Regions from separate parts of the Homo sapiens genome. Here regions 1 and 2 are each linked to region 3. The links are contacts of gene promoters, found by promoter capture Hi-C in human tissues and cell types (Jung and others, 2019). All regions are on one chromosome and are shown on one strand. Each heading gives the region's core, a stretch centred on a gene start or on the middle of the fragment in contact. The rest is flanking DNA. Distances are from core to core; before and after follow the strand shown. Region 1 has its middle 38 kb from the start of EVX1-AS. Region 2 has its middle 55 kb from the start of EVX1-AS. Region 3 holds the start of EVX1 (even-skipped homeobox 1).

Region 1 (2,700 bases), core at 168-2,667, 42 kb before region 3:
GTGGGAGGAGCAAAGAGACTAGGGATTACGTTTAGATAGCCAACCAACAGCATCTTCCAGAACAGGGGTGTCCAAACTTTTGGCTTCCCTGGGCCACATTGGAAGAAGAATTGTCTTGGGCCACACATAAAATACACTAACCCTAATGACAGCTGATAAGCTATAAAAAAATTGCAAAAAACTCTCATAATGTTTAAGAAAGTTTACAAATTTGTGTTGGTCCGCATTCAAAACTGTCCTGAAAAAAAAAAAAAAAAGCCGTCCCGACCCACATGTGGCCCATGGGCTACAGGTTGGGCAAACTTGTTCTAGAGCTTCCTAACTAGTTCCTTGCTTCCAGACTTGCTCCCCAAAGCCCATTTTCTACACAGCAGTCAAAGCATTCTTTTAAAAATGTACTCTGACCTTATTGTTCCCTTACTTAACACTATTCAAAGGTTCTCTTTTTACTTAGATTAAGTCTGAACTCCTTCCTCAGCCTACCATGCCCTGCACTATCATCTGAGCCCTGTCCTGTTCTTCTGACTGTACTTCTCATGCCCATCTCCTAACTCACTATTTCATGCCCATGATGACCTTCTGTCAGTCCCGCTTCAGAGACTCTGCACCTGTTTCCTCTTTGGGGATAATTTCCCTTCCCATATTTCACCCAGCAGCTCCTTCTTACAGCAGGTCTCACCTACAGACTACACTATTTAAAGTAGGGTTTGTGGACTCAAATCCCATTATTCTCTTTCACCAAATCTTGTTTATTTCCTTAGTTGCACTTATCACAATGCTTAATTTCACTTATTACAACTAGTCATTATTTTATGTTTGTATTCTTATTGTCTGCCTCCGCCACTAGGATGTGAGCTATAGGAAGATGAATATCACCTTCTTGTTCACCCTTTTATGACCACCTTTCAGCACAGTACTTGACACATCATAAGTGTTCAGTAAATATTAGCTGAATGAACAAACACATTCTCAAGAATTGGGGCCAAGTGCAGTGGCTCATGCCTGTAATCTTAGCACTCTGGGAGGCTGGGTGGGAGGATCACTCAAACTCAGGAGTTCAAGACCAGGCTGGGCAACATAGTGAGACCTCATCTCTACAAAAAGTTGAAAAATTAGCCAGGCATGGTGATACACACCTGTAGTCCCAGCTACTTGGGAGGCTGAGGTGGGAGGATCACTTGAGCCCAGGAGGTTGGGGCTGCAGTAAGCCCTAATCACTCCACTGCACTCCAGCCTGGGAAACAGAGCAAGACTCTGTCAAAAAAAAAAAAAAAAAAAAAAAAAGAACTGGTCTTAGATGATGAGAGGAGGAAAAAGAAGCAGAAGGTAATCAAAGGCATAAGAAGATATGCTCAAAGGAGTATATCTCATAGGCCAGGGGAAGATATGGCTTCAGGAGGGTAAGGGTAAGATTCACCAATATCAGATGCCATGAAAATATCAAAGAGAAGAAAGAGTTAACAACATCAATGGATTTGAGTTGGGGGAACAAGTGGTGAGTTGGGTCTAAAAGTTATATAGGCAGTGCATGTTGTATCTCTTGCTTAAAGAGCCTCAAAATCAAAGAGATAATGTAATGGCCCTGAAAGTAAATGGTTTGCTTTCCTTCTTGGATCCAAGAGACACTATATGTACCTTTTTTATGCTTCAATTTTCCGACTATGAAGCAGCAAAAGAAATTTTTAAAATCTTCCTCCCTACCTTGGTGGGATACCTTGAACATCAAGTAACAGACATAAAATAATTTAAGCACCCAGGATGCTAAAAAACAGAATGTTTTAATACTAATCCAGGAGACAGATGTGTAATTGGAAAAGGACCCAAAACAAGCATGTTCATTCTTCTCCATTGGAATAACCAGTCCCTCCATATTATTCCATAATCTTTACTGCACTCTAAATCTACTCCGCCTAATATAACTTCCATACTTAATTATTACTAGTAGGTTGGCACAAAAGCCACACAAGTTTTGAGTGGAGAGACTTTCAGAGTAATTGCCCATAAAGTTTTATCCTTTTCATTTAATTGTCATGTGGTATGATTCAAGTCATCACAAGAGGAGCAGAGACAATTCGGAGACACTGCCTATGAATCATATTAGAATGGAACTTGGTGAAATTTAGGAAAGAATATTTGAGGGAAATCAGAAATGTCTGATGGCCGTCCTTCCCGAGTTATCCTCATAGCACAAATTCATGTGGCTATTTCCATTATACATCCATGAACTCTAAAATATTATCCTACATACTTTTAGAAAAGTCAACAGAAATAAATGCCTTACCTTCAGATCTACAGAGTAGGTTTTATTTGCACAACATCAAAATTGTTTCTCGTGAATAGCCCCACAGATGGAGGAAAAGGTGGATCAGAGGTTAGGTGGCCAAGATTCCATCTACATCCTTAACTGTGACAAGACCAAAGAACTCCACTAGGTCTTAGTAAAAGTAAGGGTCTACCTAAATAGTCTGTTACTTAAGTCTATCTAAAAATTAATGAGAGCACAGCCTTTAATTATAGCATAAAATGACATTTTGGAAATTAAAGTATGCTTTTCTTCATTGAAAAATTTAGTAAATGAATTGAGGGAAAGGATAGCTGGTCACTGTGGAGGTATAAATTAGAGGCCAAAAGGAAGAAATGTCTCAATAACAAAAATATAAAGAGATAGAGGAAAAAAGATAAAAGGCATAACGGATATCT
Region 2 (2,700 bases), core at 30-2,529, 59 kb before region 3:
CTCCAGCCTGGACAACAGAGTGAGACTCTGTCTCAAAAAAAAAAAAAGATACTTTCAAAGAGCAAAAGCAAAAAGAATGAAAGGAAGGGCAGACATTTGTCTGACTTCTCCTTAACGCCCTCAGCCTGGTTTCATGCGGCATGGGCAAGCAGCCAGAATCCTTGTTCATGTTTAGACTTGTGTTCAGCAGAGATGCAGGCTGCCCTGTTTCTTCCTTACCAGGAGTATCACTCCCCATGGTGCCCTCCCTAGCTCAGAAAAATAGCTCCGGCACTGAAGATGCAGGCTCAAAGCCGAAGAGAGCTCTCCACCGGGGAGCCAGGGATCCTGGAATCCACCCAAGGGCTGGCTCCACTCCACATCTCACTGAAGGTTATAGCCTGATGGGCACTGAAGACCCCCGGTACAAGGAGGAGTTTCCTTCCCTGAGTGACCCATATCAGTCTCAGCTGAGTCCAGGCTTTAAACTAAGTATGTTCTGCCTGGGTTAGGGCTTCCAGGAGCACTCTGAAAGATATCAAATTATACCCATATCAAATTGTATCTGCATAAGCACTTGCTCTTCTTCAGAGCTCCTCCACATCTAGTACCTTTCATGATCCCAACGACAACCCTGGTGGCTGGCAGAGGTGTTACCATTCTAACTTGGAAAATGAGGCCCAGGTTATAGAATCTACCCAAAGTCACACAGCAGAATTCAAACCCAGCACGTCTCATTTTAAAAGCATTGCCATTTTAACATTGCTTTAAAGCAATAATCAGCAAACCATGACCTGGGCATGAGCCAAATCCAGCTCACTACCTGATTTTGCAAGTAAAGCTTTATCTGAGTATGGCCATGCCCATTCACTCTCGAATTGTCCATGGCTGCCTTCACAGTGCAGAATTGAGTAGTTCCAACAGAGACCATATGGTCCACAAAACCTGAACTATTTTCTTTTTGTTGTTGTTGTTGTTGAGAAACAGAGTTTTGCTCTTATCGCCCAGACTGGAGTGCAATGGTGTAATCTCGGCTCACTACAATCTCTGCCCCCTGGGTTCAAGCGATTCTCCAGCCTCAGCCTCCTGAGTAGCTAGTATTATAGGAGTATGCCACCAGGCCTGGCTAATTTTTGTATTTTTAGTAGAAATGGGGTTTCACCATGTTGGCCAGGCTGGTCTCAAACTCCTGACCTCTGGTGGTCCACCCACCTCAGCCTCCTAAACTGCTGGTATTACAGGCATGAGCCACTGTGCCCGGCCAACCTGAACTATTTTCTAGCTAGTTCTTTTCAGAAAAAATTTACTAACCACTGTTCTGAAGTATTATTTTACTACTTTAAAAAATTGAAATAATCTGGTATACACATATTAACAGGACTGACCACATATTGGCCACAAGGATGTTGTCTCTTGAAGAAAGGAAAAGTACCACTTACTAGCTGTGTGGCCTTGAGAATACTTAACTTTTCTAAGCTTCATTTTCCTCATTTGTAAAAGGGACATAATAATAGTATCTACTTCTCTTAGTCTGCTCGGGCTGCTGTAACAAAATACCACAGACTGGGTGGCTTAAACAACAGAAATCGATTTATCACAGTTTTGGAGACTGGGAAATGCAAGATTAAGGTGATGGCCAATTCAGGTTCTGGAGAGGAACCTCTTCCTGGCTTGTAGATGGCCAACTCATATGGTAGGGGTTGGAGAAGGTGTTCTCTGGTGTCTCTTCTTATAAGGACACTAATTCTATTAAATTATTGTCCCACCCTTATGATGTCATTTAACCTTAGTCACCTCTTAAAGGCCCTTTCTCCAAATACAGTCACACTGGAGGTTAGGGCTTCAACATATGAATCTTGGGGCCACAGAATTCAGTTAATAGCACTACTTCACAGGGCTTTTGTAAAGGTTAAATAAAGTAATGAATATAAAAAGATTAGCATAGACTCTGGCATTTAGTAAGAACACAATAACAGTAAAAAGTATCGACTCTGACTTGTTAACAAAATACATAGAAAAAGCACAGTGCTTAAAGTCAGAGGACTTGTTTGATCTTGAGCAAGTCACTCAACCACTCTCACTTCAGTTTCCTAATCCACAAAGTGGGATTGCACAAAACCTGAAGAATAGTGCCTTAACATATGAAATGTATTTTTTTAATTTATTTGGTGTGTTGGCTTCTATTCAATTGCTTGTCATTTCATGATTACAAGATGGCTGCAGCACCTCAAGCCATTTCATCTACATTCCACACAAGAAGATAGAAGTAAAGGCAAGGCACAGGCCAGCTGGATTTGTCTGTTTTTACCAGAAAAACAAAAGTTTTCCCAGAAACTGTGTCCAACAGACTTCCACTTATGTTATGGTCATAACAGTGTCACATGGCTACTCTAACTGGAAAATAACTATGGAGAAGGGGTTTCTGTCAGTGTTTGCCATAAAATAGGTTTTCTAAAGAAAAATCAGTATTCACATACCCATATTATTGTGGTTGCACTAGAGATGACAAGGAAGCCTTATTGTAGGGTCACCAAGGATGGTCACCTTCATCATATGTGGTCACTGGTAACCTCTACTAAGAGCAATCTGATCTACAAAAAGTATCAAGAACTGACTTGAGAAAGAGAGAAAAGGGACACTTAGCCAAATCTGAAAAGAAAAAAAAAAAAACCACTACAGCACATGCAATAGTAGACAGAGAGGCTGGCTTCCTCTGTTTAG
Region 3 (2,700 bases), core at 178-2,677:
TCCGGGCTATCCACCCCTTTCCCATTAGCCTTTGGTGGGGAGGGGTTCTCCAGTTAAACCAGCCCCCCTTTGGGCCTACCTCTGAGAAGGGTGGGGCTCCAGCCCCCTGCAGCTCCTTTTCCTTTGGGTGGAGAAGTGGGACTAGGAAGGAAAGGGGAAGGGGGGAGGACCCGATCTCTGCCTTTTCAAATGCAACCGGAGACCAAAGGCAATTAGACCATTGGGACCATTTCCGACCTGGCGCCGCGAAGCCCGGGAAGTGACAAGGTAATTTGGACCTCTGACCGACGTGCAAACTGGTCGGAGGGCTGCAGCACCCGGGCTGCCCAAGTGGGCCGCAATTTTACGGTCCTTTATGGACTCCTGGCTTCCGCGCCTCCATGCCTCTTACACCCTGCCAGCCACAAACTGCCCGGATCGGCGTTTGATCTTGCCCTCGCCTGGGGAAAGTGTCTTCCCCGAGCAATTGAAGCATTCCCCGAGCAGTTGAAACACTGGGTGCTTGGGGTGAGCTTCGAATCCCCCAAGTCCAGGACTTGCATCCGCCCCCTCAGCACCCCGCACTCAAGGCACTGCTGTCACCCTCAGTCCCGCCAATGCCAGAACACAGTAGGAGACCCCCGCCAGAACGCAGATAGCAGAGAGAGTTGCTCAGGTGGGTCCCCCCAGCCATCCTGCCCTAGGGGAAGGGAGTGTCTTCCTCCTGGCCTGCGCCGAAGTGAAGGGTGGGCGCAGTGGGAGGCCCGGGGAGCGGAGGGGCACGGTGGCTACCTTTGCTGTGCTGGTACTCGGCGTTCCCGGTGGCGCAGTCCGGGGTGCAGCTCACCTCGATTTCTTCATAGAAATCCGACTCGGTGTCCGAGCTACTGGGTTGCCCCTGTCCGGAGAGGCTGTCGACTGAGGGGGCCGGGGGTCCTGGGCCGAGCATGGCCGCCCCAGCTACCTGGGGCTCGGCGCCCGGCCCCGCCGCGCTGCCTGCGAGTCCATCTACCGGCTCCTCCTCCGGGCCTCCCCCGCCGCGCTCCCGGGTGGCCGGAGGGACGGCCCGAGGGCTCAGGCAACCACGGGGCACCATTTTCTCGGGCGGCTCCGGCAGCGGGCTGCCCACGGCTTCGGACAAATTTGAGACTCTCTTGCCAACCAGAGTGCCAAGCTGACCCCCATCCAGAAACACAACCATGTCCTTTCGGCTCTCCATCCCGGGGCTCTCCGGTGGGGGAGGGGAAAGCCCCAAGTGAGTTCCTAACCCCGGCTCCCTGGGTCTCCAGCGGCCGGACGGATCTTGGTTGCAAGAGGGAGAAAGAAAGGCCGGGTGCCTGGGAGGGCGCGGAGCTGCTGGAGCGCGGTCTGGACCGCGACCGCGGCGGTGGCGGTGGGAGCTAGGGTCACCTTGTGAAGCGAGCGCTCCTCTGTGCCGCACCGCCTCTGGGAGGAAGCCCCATTGCCCTCTTCTTTCTAAGCTGTCATCCTCCTGCTGCAATCGTCATTACAGTACCGCTGGTGACGCCACTCGGCGAGCGCAAGTGGATAAATAGAAACGTCTGCCACAGCGAAGATGAAAGGAAACCCGCAGCTAATGGCTCGGCAGTGATGCGCCAGGTGTGGGCCTCGCTCGATTGGGGAGGAGAGTGTGAAAACAGACAGAGAGACACACACACTGAGAGAGGGAGACACCCAGGCAGAGGGGATGCAAATGGAATTCCGCAGAAAGAAAAGAGAGCTTAACGCGCGCGGCGAGTTCCGCAGGGGCAGCGGGACTCGGTAATTAAATAAGCTTTTGATTTTTTCTTTTATTGTTGTTTTGACTTTTGTTTTCTTAACTTGGTGCCTTGATCTAACACCGATGAAAGAATCCATAACTGCATTTTAGAAGTGTGAAGCCCGGCTTACAAGCCTCAATTCTGTCGGCATTATTACAACTGTCTGCCCCTGGCAGCTAACCTCAAACTGGCTGAAAAGTCTTTTTACAAGCTACGGAAAAATGTATTCCCCCGCCCCAAGTTGACTGGAGAGCTTGAGGCTGGGCCATCTTTTCCTCTTTTCTCCTCCCTCTCCCTACCCACCTCTGTCTCCTTACTCCTGCGAACCAAACTTTGCTATTTTTCTTCCCTAAGGGGCAAGAAATAAATACCTTATTATTATTTTTTAATTTAAAGACCCGCCTTGGCTTCTGTAAGAGTGTGTGCTGATTTCTTTTAAATACCTCCTTCCCATCTAGATGGCCTTAAGTTTTCCACAGCCTGGCTTCATCTTGAGATGGCTATTCGTACAAGAAGTCGCTTTCCCGTTTGCCTGGACCTCGCCTGCACTCCAGGTATGTTGGGTGGGGAGAGTTTCTAAGAGTTGTCTTTTTTTTTCCCTTGCCCATATTTTAAAGTATTCGTTCAGAATCAGCGAAGTCTCCTGGAAAGAGGTTTTTCGAATGAAGAGGCGCCAGGAATGCGGCCCCTGCTGTGGCAGTACTGGAGGCCCCTACTTGGGAGAAGGCAGTAGCTTTCACCGCGCTATTTTGGGCAGGGGTTCAGCCTCCCCGAGTACAAAAAGGTTGGGGTTCATAGAGGTTTGACTCATAAGGTCCTCTCCCAAGTCCCTGCCTAGGGGCAGTGGTACCTGTCTCCAAAAGTGGATGGCGTTTGAGGTAGAAGAGAGTGAAGTCGCTGAAAATGCCCTAAAACAGCAAGTAAGTAGGGACTCTGATGA

The links. The method cuts DNA at HindIII sites, captures the fragments that hold promoters and counts their contacts. A contact is called where the count stands out against the background at its distance.
Region 1: a contact is called between a fragment that was not itself captured here and the fragment with the promoter of EVX1 in region 3, in 2 of the 25 tissues and cell types used here (bladder and thymus).
Region 2: a fragment that was not itself captured here is called in contact with the fragment with the promoter of EVX1 in region 3 in 7 of the 25 tissues and cell types used here (adrenal gland, bladder, liver and 4 more).

Annotation. Positions count from the first base shown.
Region 1 is chr7:27,283,958-27,286,657 of GRCh38, reverse strand. No RefSeq gene overlaps it. Among named protein-coding and RNA genes, the nearest start is that of EVX1-AS, 38 kb to the right of the region's middle. The HindIII fragment of the contact is 6,744 bases long and covers 1-2,700 here.
Region 2 is chr7:27,300,703-27,303,402 of GRCh38, reverse strand. No RefSeq gene overlaps it. Among named protein-coding and RNA genes, the nearest start is that of EVX1-AS, 55 kb to the right of the region's middle. The HindIII fragment of the contact is 4,293 bases long and covers 1-2,700 here.
Region 3 is chr7:27,241,529-27,244,228 of GRCh38, reverse strand. It overlaps EVX1 (even-skipped homeobox 1), which reads right to left and starts at 1,427. Exons shown (of 3, transcript NM_001989.5): 1 at 772-1,427. The coding sequence starts at 1,198. EVX1-AS (EVX1 antisense RNA) reads left to right here. Exons shown (of 4, transcript NR_120507.1): 2 at 2,219-2,314; 3 at 2,588-2,680. RefSeq lists an enhancer at 932-1,809. The HindIII fragment of the contact is 9,702 bases long and covers 1-2,700 here.